Linked DNA regions of Homo sapiens: all the other regions are linked to region 1. Evidence: promoter capture Hi-C in 16 types of primary human blood cells and fetal thymus (Javierre and others, 2016). All regions are on one chromosome and are shown on one strand. The core of a region is centred on a gene start or on the middle of the fragment in contact, and the rest is flanking DNA. Distances in the headings are between cores, read along the strand shown. Region 1 holds the start of PIGY (phosphatidylinositol glycan anchor biosynthesis class Y). Region 2 overlaps PPM1K-DT (PPM1K divergent transcript). Region 3 overlaps FAM13A (family with sequence similarity 13 member A). Region 4 overlaps HERC3 (HECT and RLD domain containing E3 ubiquitin protein ligase 3).

What was found. The method cuts DNA at HindIII sites, captures the fragments that hold promoters and counts their contacts. A CHiCAGO score of 5 or more calls a contact.
Region 2: a fragment that was not itself captured here is called in contact with the fragment with the promoter of PIGY in region 1 in 3 of 17 cell types (total CD8 T cells, naive CD4 T cells and activated CD4 T cells); the score reaches 5.4 in total CD8 T cells.
Region 3: a contact is called between a fragment that was not itself captured here and the fragment with the promoter of PIGY in region 1, in 1 of 17 cell types (non-activated CD4 T cells). The highest score is 5.1, in non-activated CD4 T cells.
Region 4: a fragment that was not itself captured here is called in contact with the fragment with the promoter of PIGY in region 1 in 1 of 17 cell types (naive CD4 T cells); the score reaches 5.9 in naive CD4 T cells.

The regions. Positions count from the first base shown.
Region 1 is chr4:88,522,502-88,525,092 of GRCh38, forward strand. PIGY (phosphatidylinositol glycan anchor biosynthesis class Y) reads right to left here and starts at 1,275. Exons shown (of 2, transcript NM_001042616.3): 1 at 997-1,275. It overlaps PYURF (PIGY upstream open reading frame), which reads right to left and starts at 1,275. Exons shown (of 2, transcript NM_032906.5): 1 at 997-1,275. The coding sequence starts at 1,199. It overlaps PIGY-DT (PIGY divergent transcript), which reads left to right and starts at 1,309. Exons shown (of 2, transcript NR_134663.1): 1 at 1,309-1,431; 2 at 2,264-2,490. It also overlaps a transcript of HERC3 not described here. RefSeq lists an enhancer at 573-632. The HindIII fragment of the contact is 19,176 bases long and covers 1-2,591 here.
Region 2 is chr4:88,287,239-88,289,829 of GRCh38, forward strand. All of the region lies in intron 1 of PPM1K-DT (PPM1K divergent transcript), which reads left to right. Among named protein-coding and RNA genes, the nearest start is that of PPM1K-DT, 3.6 kb to the left of the region's middle. The HindIII fragment of the contact is 1,173 bases long and covers 701-1,873 here.
Region 3 is chr4:88,746,298-88,748,888 of GRCh38, forward strand. FAM13A (family with sequence similarity 13 member A) reads right to left here. Exons shown (of 24, transcript NM_014883.4): 18 at 1,334-1,554; 19 at 635-718. Among named protein-coding and RNA genes, the nearest start is that of FAM13A-AS1, 38 kb to the left of the region's middle. The HindIII fragment of the contact is 1,604 bases long and covers 479-2,082 here.
Region 4 is chr4:88,672,173-88,674,763 of GRCh38, forward strand. All of the region lies in intron 16 of HERC3 (HECT and RLD domain containing E3 ubiquitin protein ligase 3), which reads left to right. Among named protein-coding and RNA genes, the nearest start is that of NAP1L5, 24 kb to the right of the region's middle. The HindIII fragment of the contact is 6,373 bases long and covers 1-2,591 here.

The sequences.
Region 1 (2,591 bases), core at 25-2,524:
AACTTTCGAAAGCACTAAGTCTGCAGTGAGCTAGTTATAAACGTAAATCAAATGATAATTTCAAGGTTCGAGAAAATTGAATAATATGTTTATTACGGGAAAAAGAAATACGAAAAATTGCTAGCAATCTACCATTCAAAGATAACCACTGATAACATTTTGGTGTTTATGCGATTTGTAATACTAGCGTTAGTGTTGTCAATATTCAATTTTGGTAGCTTGGAAACTGTAGAGCTGTCTTCCCAAAAACTAGTTAAAGAGGCTTCTACGAAACCTGCTAGGCCACAACTAAGAGCCACTGGGCAGCAAACACAGCTGAATTGCTTAAGATTGTCAGGCACCAGTTGTACAAGACACTTTCACAAGAATCTGGAGGGTACAACAATACTTTTCATTATCTTGGCTTAAAAACCGGAAGGCTTCGGACTTGTCCTGAATCGCAGTGGTTCATAAACCTGGTGGTACATTAGAAATCATTTAGGGACCGTTTAAGAACACAGATAAGCTGGGCGTGGGGGCGGCGCCTGTCTCTCGACTCCTGAGGAGGCTGAGGCGGGAGTTCTAGGCCAGTCTGGGCAACGTAGGGGGCACCCTGTCTCTTAAAAGGAAAAAAAAAAAGGAAAAGAAAATACAAATGTTCAGGTCCCATCCCGCGAGCATTCCAAGTCTGCCCGTCTTGGGGGCTGTCGGGGAATCGGCATTTTTAAAACGGTCCCCGGGTGATTGCAATGCGCAGCCGGTCGCGAACCCTAAAACGCTTCGAGCCATTCCCGCAGGCTGGCGTTGCGTTCTGGGAGATGTGGGACGCAGCTCCCCTGGCCTCCGGTCTCCCCCGTCCTGCCCGCTGTGCGCCCGGCGAGGACAGAGTCCAGAATGTGGCAGCGGAGAGTACCTGACCGACCTACAAGGCCCCAGTGGCTGCAAGAGGCCGCGGTCCACCGCTCCCTTTCCGCCCACCGGGAGGCTGCAAAGGAAGGGCCAAGGCCAGCGAGTTACCTGAGCGGCTTCTTGGAGAGCGGGCACACCAGGAACTCCAGCAGCGCCGGATCGAAGTCGCGGGGCGGCTCCTCAGTCTTCTTGCCCCGGTCGGCCAAAGGCCGCGACCCCGACGCGTGCAGGCACCTACGGGCGACCGCGGACGGCGGCGCGCGCGTTCCCCGCAGCGCTGAGGCGAGCCTGCAGCGTGCTCCACTCAGCATGGTCTGGCAGCCGGAGACCAGGCCTCACCGCAGCCTCGCCACCCGTGGCCGAGCTCCCGGCTTCCCGTTCGTCCAGGCCAGCCGGGCAGGCCCCGCCCCCTGGTCCTCCAGGAAACGCTGCCGAGGAGTAGGCGGGGCGGGCGCTTTGGTTCCGAGGGTGCTTCTGCTCCGACTGCTTTTCCCACGGGCGTCATCTATAGTCCGGAGGACAGCCCCAGGGCAGAGGCCTCTGGTGAGTGCCCCGCCGCCTTACCAGACTACAAACTAAACCAGTGTTTAAGTCAAGGTGTCTGGGTTTTCACCGGGGCCTGTCCAAGGATGCTAGGAAGCCAGTGGCCAGGCCTCAGAGTTGTAGGGAGTTAGGCTTGGACCTACGTGGTTACCTCCAAGTGAAGTTTCAAACACACTGTTATGTATTGTACCGAATGTATTGTCATGGATGTATTGAAAGCGCTCATTTGTTTCATGTACATCTTTACTATACCATTAGTTTCTGTAACCTTGTTTGGCTTTTTTCTCTCTCATTAAAAAAAGTGAGAACCTGGAAGGAAGGGCCTAGGCCTCTGACCCTCCAAAATATATAAATTCTTCCTGCCTGAGACCCAGTCATTGTGAAGTATTTGCGTAATAAAGCACAGCTAATTTACTTCTATAAATGAGCTTGGAGGCCGCAAGGGGCCTAAATAGCTGTGTAACAGGCAGATGTGATCTGCCTGTTAAAGATCCATTCAATGAGTGGGTGATCCATTCAGTGAATTTGTATCCCAGGTTTGCTTCCCACTCTCCAAGAAAGTGACCATGTTAGATCTCTTTCTTACAGTGTAGTAGATGGGAACTTGGGCTCTGGGGCCTGACAGCTTGGTTCCCTGTCCACAATTAGTAGCTGGATGACTTTGGCAAATGACTTAACTGCTCATTTTCCTTATCTGTATAAGACTAATAATTGTACCTACCTTGTAGGTAGGGCATAAATGTGATTGTGCATTCGAAGAACATTTAGAAAAGTGCCTGGCACAAATTAATGCTCCATTAATGTTGTCTATTTTTATTTTTAGTTCATCTAGTTTTTCCATGTCCGAAGACTCAAAGATTCTCATTAGTCATCCATTTTTTCCCTCCGTTCTGCTGAATATCAACCTGAACTTTTTTTTTGCATCACTGGGCATTATCATTTCACACTTTGAGTTCCTGGAGCTGGAAGTACAGAATCCAAAAATATGTTTATATTTTCAAATTTCTCTTCCACTCCAATGTAAAAATAAACTGACAAATGTTTATATGTTCATCCTAATTTTTTGTTTGTTTTTTGGGCCATCCTGTTTTTTTTAAAAAAAACAGTTTATTTTTTGATGTTCTTTGTTCACTAATGCTCAGAAGATTTTCTAAGGTTAA
Region 2 (2,591 bases), core at 37-2,536, 240 kb before region 1:
GCCAGCAGTTTACTTCTTTTGAATTATATGCTTCTGGGTTTTGAATCTCTGAAGCATAGCTAAATACACCACAAAAATAATTCATGGCCAGCACAGTGGTTCATGCCTGTAATCCCAGCACTTTGAGAGGCCAAGGCTGCCAATCACTTGAGCTGGGAGTTCAAGACTAGCCTGAGCAACATGTCAAAACCATGGTCTCTACAAAAAAATACAAAAATGAGCCAGGCATGGTGGCGCATACCTGTGATCCCAGCTACTCGGGAGGCTGAGGTGGGAGGATCACCTGAGCCCAGGAGGTCCAGGCTGCAGTGAACCATGATCTCACCACTGTACTCTAGCCTAGGTGACAGCACTTTGGGAGGCCGAGGCGGGTGGATCACAAGGTTAGGAGATCAAGACCATCCTGGCTAACACGGTGAAACCCCGTCTCCACTAAAAATACAAAAAATTAGCCGGCGTGGTGGCGGGCGCCTGTAGTCCCAGCTACTTGGGAGGCTGAGGCAGGAGAATGGCGTGAACCCGGGAGGCGGAGCTTGCAGTGAGCCGAGATCGCGCCACTGCACTCCAGCCTGGGCGACAGAGCAAGACTCCGTCTCAAAAAAATAAAATAAAATGCACAATTATTGGTACACCAAACCCCCATGAAATGCAGTTTATCTGTATAAGAAACCTGTTCATGTACCCCAGAACCTAAAATAAAAGCTTTTAAAATGTGAATAATGTGTAAAGGAAATCATTATTTGGTATTTGACAAAAAATTAAAAAATGGAAAAGAATTCACCACAGAGGCTGACTTGGCATGACAGATCACTGCACAATGTACAAAATAATCAAGGGGATATGGCACTCCGTACATTCATTAAGTTGAGCTACTTCTTTATTCAGTTTATATTTTATTTTATTTACTTATTTTTTTTTAGAGACAGGGTCTCCCTGTGTTTCCCAGGCTGGATTGCAGGGACTATTCACAAATGTGATAATAGTGCACTATAGCCTTGAATTCCTGGGCTCAAATGATTCTCCCGCCTCACTGGAGTAGCTAGGACTACAGGCATGCACCATTGTGCCCAGCTCAGTTTATATTTTAAAGAATTGGACCATCTGCTGAAAACCACTGGCTATCAGAAAATTACACCCAAAACAATTCACAGGGCTTTGGGTGGGTGGGTGGTATGTATAATTGCAGAATTATTAATATTCACTAATGAATCATTTGTTGTTAAAATTAGATATGGACATTTTTGTATACTCAGAATCAGCAGTTTTCTAGAAAAGTATCTGTAGGCTACTCTTGGCCTCATGCCTAAAACATGGGCCTGGGATACTAGGATGTATTTTTTCCACAGTTCAGGCTGCTCTGTCCTGAATTGCTAGCCCAGATGTCCCTTCTCTGTGTTACCAAGATAATTGCCAAAACACTGACATAGAGAATTTTTAGGTCTGTTGCAGTGGCTCATCCCTGTAATCCCACCACTTTTGGAGGCCAAGGCAGGAAGACAGCTTGAGGCCAGGAATTCGAGACCAGCCTGGGCAAGATAGTGAGACCCCTGTTCTACAAAAAAAAAAAAAAAGATTAGCCAGACATGGTGATGTATGCCTGTAGTCCCAACTACTTGAGAGGCTGAGGTGGAAGGATTACTTGATCCCAGGCGTTTGGGGTTGCAGTGAGCTATGAACATGCCACTGCACTCCAGCCTGGGCAACAAAGCAAGACCTTGTCTCTTTAAAAAAAAAAAAGAAAAGAAAAGAGAGAGAGAGAATTTGAAATCTTGTCCTTGGATGCAATTAAACTTGCAGCAATGATTTTATTTTAAAATATGATTGTTGCTTCCCCCACCCTGTATAATTTACCTCTAAAAATTTGGAATAAATAAGCTTCAGGCCAGGCGCAGTGGCTCATGTCTGTAATCCCAGCACTCTGGGAGGCCGAGAAGGGTGGATCATTTGAGGTCAGGAGTTCGAGACCAGCCTGACCAACATGGCAAAATGCCGTCTCTACTAAAAATACAAAAATTAGCTGGGTGTGGTGGCGTGCACCTGTAATCCCAGCTACTCGGGAGGATGAGGCAGGAGAATCACTTGAACCTGGGAGGCAGAGGTTGCAGCGAGCCAAGATCATGCCACTGCGCTCCAGCCTGAACAAAAGAGCAAGATTCTGCCTCAAAAAAAAAAAAAAAAAACTTCGACCAGTACCAATGCTACAGAGATTTGAAATGTCTTTCCATTTCCACCTCCGATTATTTGACTATTATTCATTCTATTTGACCCTTATTCAAGCCTTTAATTGCATGTTTCCCATCAGAGCTGTTGTGAGAACAATCATATTTTGTAAATGTATTTTGTAAGAAAGGTTATACAAAATTGTGTTTTATTTAAATCACAAAATGCTCAAAATCAAGGAAGCGAAATATGATAGTCATTATTAGCATTGTTTGCTAAATGTTTACTGTTCTTCATCACCCAAGCCAGTAGTGCCAGGCGAAGGCAGGCATCTGTGACTTGTCCTGGTCAATGAATTGTGAGTGGAGGTGATGGGGTAATTTTTGAGTGAGCATTTCGTATCCCTGTGCAAGACCCTCCAAGGTTCACTC
Region 3 (2,591 bases), core at 31-2,530, 220 kb after region 1:
AGCCTATCATGCTACCGTTTCCCCCACAGCTAACAACAAACATTTAAGCAATGCTTGCTGAACGGCAAGCCACCTCAAATGCTTCCCGTTGTTATGAAAAGGCAAAGCCATATTTTGGATTCCTCACGCTTCTGGTTCTGAACGGCAGCTGGAACTTCTTTACAAACACTAGTTGCACTGCATTGCAGAGAGATTGAATTCTAAGGCAGATCATTCTAGTTTCACACCTTTCATTTTATGGATGAGGAAGCCTACAGTGACAGCTTATTGGGGGAGACCTAGGGACAGGGAAGTCTCCAAACTCCAGGGGTCTTTATGCCCTATACTCTGCCCCTCCGACCCCTGGCCCCTCCACCATTCCTTCCTTTAAAGCGGTACATTAATGACTAAATTTTAGTTGCAAACCAATTTTTCATTGGAACCCAAGTAAGTTCCACATCTACTAGATAGAACTTTCTTATTGGTTAAGCCTTCAGAAAGCTTAGTTATGGTGTAAATATATACTAACCTCCTTTATCCTAAAAGTAAAGCAAGCAAACATTAGGGAACCCCATTTGTAAAATACTGAACATAGAAAATCCATTTCTAAAGCCAGATAATTGACCCCAATCAGAAAATTTACTACATCACATACCGGCCGTCCATGAATGCTTTCATAATATAACAGAGCTTTCTGCAGAGCCACTTTCTCATTAGCAATCTGGTCTTTGGTCATATCCTGTATAAACACAGGGATAGAGAATTGAAAGAGAGGAAAATGTGTGTGAACATTCCAACTTCTTTACTTAAATTACTAAAGCAAGGCTAAAAAGAACCCTCATATAACAGCTCTCCCTAGCTCTATCCAAAGTTCATTTAAAAATGGGTTACTCCTGAGCTCTTGGGAGAAACGTGGCCAGCACAGCAGAATCATCATCAGCCACCTGGATCTCCCTCACGGCAGCAAAGGTAAGGTGAACACTGAGGTAAGCAGGGCTGTGAGGCACATGGGGCTTAGCTTAATGGCCCAAGCAATGACGACGGTTATACGTTACATGGTCCCAAAGGTTTGTCTCTAATCCTTCTACCTCAGAGTCACAAAACCAGCTATTAACCTAAACAAGTTCATTCTGTAATCTATACAATAGAGTTTTGTTTTCAATCTGTAGTCAAAAACCAAAGCACCCACAGTTAACGCACTCTGCAGCTGTTTCATCAGCTTCCCTAGACACGTAACAGCCTGGAAGGCTTAACAAGGCATCATCTTCCCACTGGGATTCACGTGGCATGCCCTGTGTCTCTACCACATTGACTGCAATGGCTTAGGGCTTAGCACTTCACAGAATGATCGCACCTTAATGTCCTCAGGGCGGCTGCTTTCCGCTCGCTTCTCCTGGAGCTTCCTCTGAATAGATTCCAATGTGGCTTCAACACTGGGCTTTATTGCTTTATCCACCAGCTCTTGCTTCTTCTCATCTTCTTTCTCAAGTTGGGAACCAAAACTCTTGGGGAGTGTGTTGCTTCGCTGCCGCATCCTGGGAGTTAGGTCCTCTTCAGATATCTTTAGTTTTGATTCTAGTTGAGAAGATTTGGGGGTAAAGATATATGAGATTTATTTATTTATTTATTTTGAGATGGAGTCTCGCTCTGTCGCCCAGGTTGGAGTGCAGTGGCACGATCTCGGCTCACTGCAAGCTCCGCCTCCTGGGTTCACGCCATTCTCCTGCCTCAGTCTCCTGAGTAGCTGGGACTACAGGTGCCCGCCACCACGCCCGGCTAATTTTTTTTGGTATTTTTAGTAGAGACGGGGTTTCACCATGTTAGCCAGGATGGTCTCGATCTCCTGACCTCATGATCCTCCTGCCTCGGCCTCCCAAAGTGCTGGGATTACAGGCGTGAGCCACTGCGCCCGGCCTGATATATGAGATTTGATGTCTGCCCAACACAAATTGTTTTTCTGTAGTATCAATAACTTATTCTTTTTTCAGAGAGTATCTAGTTACAGTATCAGTAGAAATCCCTGAATTATTATGTAAAACCTGAGAGAATGGTAACATTTTCTTTGATTACATGGAATGTTTCCCTAACACTAATTGCTGAGAAAGCTTTAGCCACATCAGCCTGTATGATGCTCTCAGAATGTGGCATCCTTGCTCCTTCAGTGGTTAAAGGTATTTAGTGATCTAATGCCCAGCCACTGGCCAACCTTTTCTGTATGACTTACACACCTTATTCTGAAATTAGGTTCACTTTGTATTCTATTTAGTTGTTTACATGACTGTGTCTCTGAAAAGATGGGAATCTCTTTGAGGGATGGAGGCCATACCCTTTGCAGATTCATCTCTGTGTCTACTTGTTTGCTTCTACCACCACAGCAAATGGAGACTTGGATTAAACAGGTGTTGAGAGATGCTGACTTGAAACCATCATCCTTCTATTAGTGATCCAGGGAAATGAAGAAATGCTGCAGAATTCGCCTCTTAGCTGATCGGGTTGCCCTGTGACTGAGACCATGTGAAGACCTGGGGAAGTGGTCACTCTGAATAGCTGAGAGTGCTGGGAAGCATCTTTAAGGACCGGGGAATGCCTTAGCAGTGGCACTCAGTGGGAGA
Region 4 (2,591 bases), core at 43-2,542, 150 kb after region 1:
AATTGTAATTCTTTTTTACTCTGAAAAAGAAGTTGCTCATGTTAAAATCTAGATTATTATGACAGTAGTCTCTGAGTAGAGATATTTAAGTAACTTTTACAATATTTTAAACTTCCTTTCTTTTAACATTTGATAAATATCTTATCAGATCTTGAATAACAGATGCTCATCTCTTCAATAACTATAATAGTTATTAAAGAAATATGGAAAATTACATGAAATTAGTATATGGCCTTTTGTGATTTTTGTGGAATTTTTTTTATTGTATGAGGTACAATGCTATTAGAAATTGAATTTTAAATGTCTTGATATTTTGAAGTTTAATTTAAAATACTAAAGCTATTTCATATGTTATTTTTGTTTAACTACTTTTAAATAATAGATGGATTTTTTTGATGTGTGTTGGCATTTTTAGCTTGTTAATAGCTGAGGCTGTGTAGTATATTATTGAGCACATGCTCCAGTCAAAAAGACCTGGGTTCAGTTCCTTACTCTGGTCTAATGGCCATGGCCTTAGACAAGTTACCTAATTTCTATAGGCCCAGCATCCTCTTTTGTGAGTAAGAATTATAACAGATTGTGGAAATTAAATGGGAGAAAGCATGGAAAGACCTTGCTTAGCAGAGTACTTAGCATATAATAAGCCCTCAATAAATATTTTTCACGAAGCAGTTCTTGAGTACCTAATGTGTGCCATCTGCCTGCTAGTCACAGTGGAAACATGTATGGATATGGTGTCTACCTTTGCAGAGTGTTTAGCCCAGAAGCAGCAGTGAAAAATTGCAAAGGGATCTAACACATGTGTGCAGAAGGAACATTCTAAAGTGGCTGATTTTTACTCCTTTTAAAGAAGAGGTGGTAGTGGTTCCTTTACTTCAATCAGTAACTTGCCATTATCTGCACTTAAAAACCAAATAGCACAGAGTGAATGAGTGGTGGGCTCCTCTAGAGGGCAGCACAAGTGGGGAAAGTCAGTGCCACAGTGTAAATACTTAAAAAATAAAAGCTAGATAAAGCTCGACATCTTGCTGTATGTGTTAAAGGAGACGCAGCCAGGCAGTGTTTTGTCCCCAGTTATGAGTATTGTGCACGTGTGAGACAAGACAGGCACTAAGGCAGAGGAGGCTGTATTTCTTCTCCAGCACTGCAGGTGTGCGTGTAGTGCCTCCTGCCCCACTTGCAGCCACATTTAGGAGATGTTGACTTCGTATTTAAAAAAAAATGATATTCCCAATTTTTCTGTTCTATCCCATTTACTTATTCATTGCTTCTATTTCATATACTTTAAAAATGAGCTTAGGTCACAGTGCAGCCCCGTTTCAGGCAGGGAGACTTGAAATATGGTCCACTAGTACTTTACTAGTTTTAAGTCTGTGATACTCATTTTTGAGGAATGGATAGTCCAAGACAAGTAGCCTCTCAGGAGATAATCATGTATCTTATCAGTTCGTATGCATCCTTCTAGGTTATGAATAGCAATAGTGGCACAAAATCATGCAGATTTATTTTGTATAATATGGAAATACCAGTGTGAGTACAATTTCTAAAATATTCAGTATTCACAGAATAAAAATTAATGAAATTAAATTATTATATATCAAATACAAAAACTTACAGACTTACAAAAAGTCTGTGGATGTATAAGCAGACCTTTGCTACAGATTCGCGGCTTCTTTTGACTGAATATCGCTCCATCCTTTGCCTTCCTTAGAGTTGGCACTTCTGTTTTGTAAGGCTTCCATATCTTCCTGCCTGCCTTGCTGGCTCACCTGAGACTTCTCTAGACCACCAGCTCTGGGCAGTGTCTCTCTGGCTTTGGCTGTGGCTCCTAACTGAGGCAGTTTTGGATTTCTTCCCAGCCATCCCACTCAACAGAGAGAATGGTGACCCTGCCCTCAATTTAACTCCTCCCCTTCTCCAGTAGAAAGATCAGCCCGCTTCCAAATCTGGGTTCCTTCACCTCTGGGGTGTGGGAAGGGGTCAGGTGAGGGATGCTTAGAGGGACTACAAGCTGCCGAAGCTGGGTATTTAAGGGGTGCAGGGAGGCTCAAGGTGGGGGTTACAGGAAGAGGGTGGGGGGAGAGAGTCAGAGAACAGGAGTGGGACTGGAAAGAGCCAAGGAATACAGACAAAACTGCTGATTGATGTCTGAAATAACTGCATTACACCAACTAAAATGTCAGTATGTACTTAAAAATACTAAGTAGGCTCGGACTCTGTAATGCCAGAACTGTTTTTATTATCACTTCTTCCACAGTCACTTTTATATTTGAAATATCTAAAACTTTATCTTGCTTTATAGACCAACACACATTCAAGATCTTTCTTTTCCCTTGAGAATAGGCAGATAATGCTTTGCATAAACTAATCTCTTCTGAGAGACAGATTAGGAAATTCTGAATATTGGCACCAGTTTTAAGCCTACTTTCTTTCCCAGGATGCTTATATCTTTTGTAGGTACCTAGACTAGAAGATGACTTAGCTTTGTATAGTGCTGTTTTATGGTGTGGTTTTGTTTTTTTGTTTTTAGTCATCTTGATTTCTAACTTCAAAGTAATTGGATATGTAGGCATGAGAGTGAGTAAGATTGG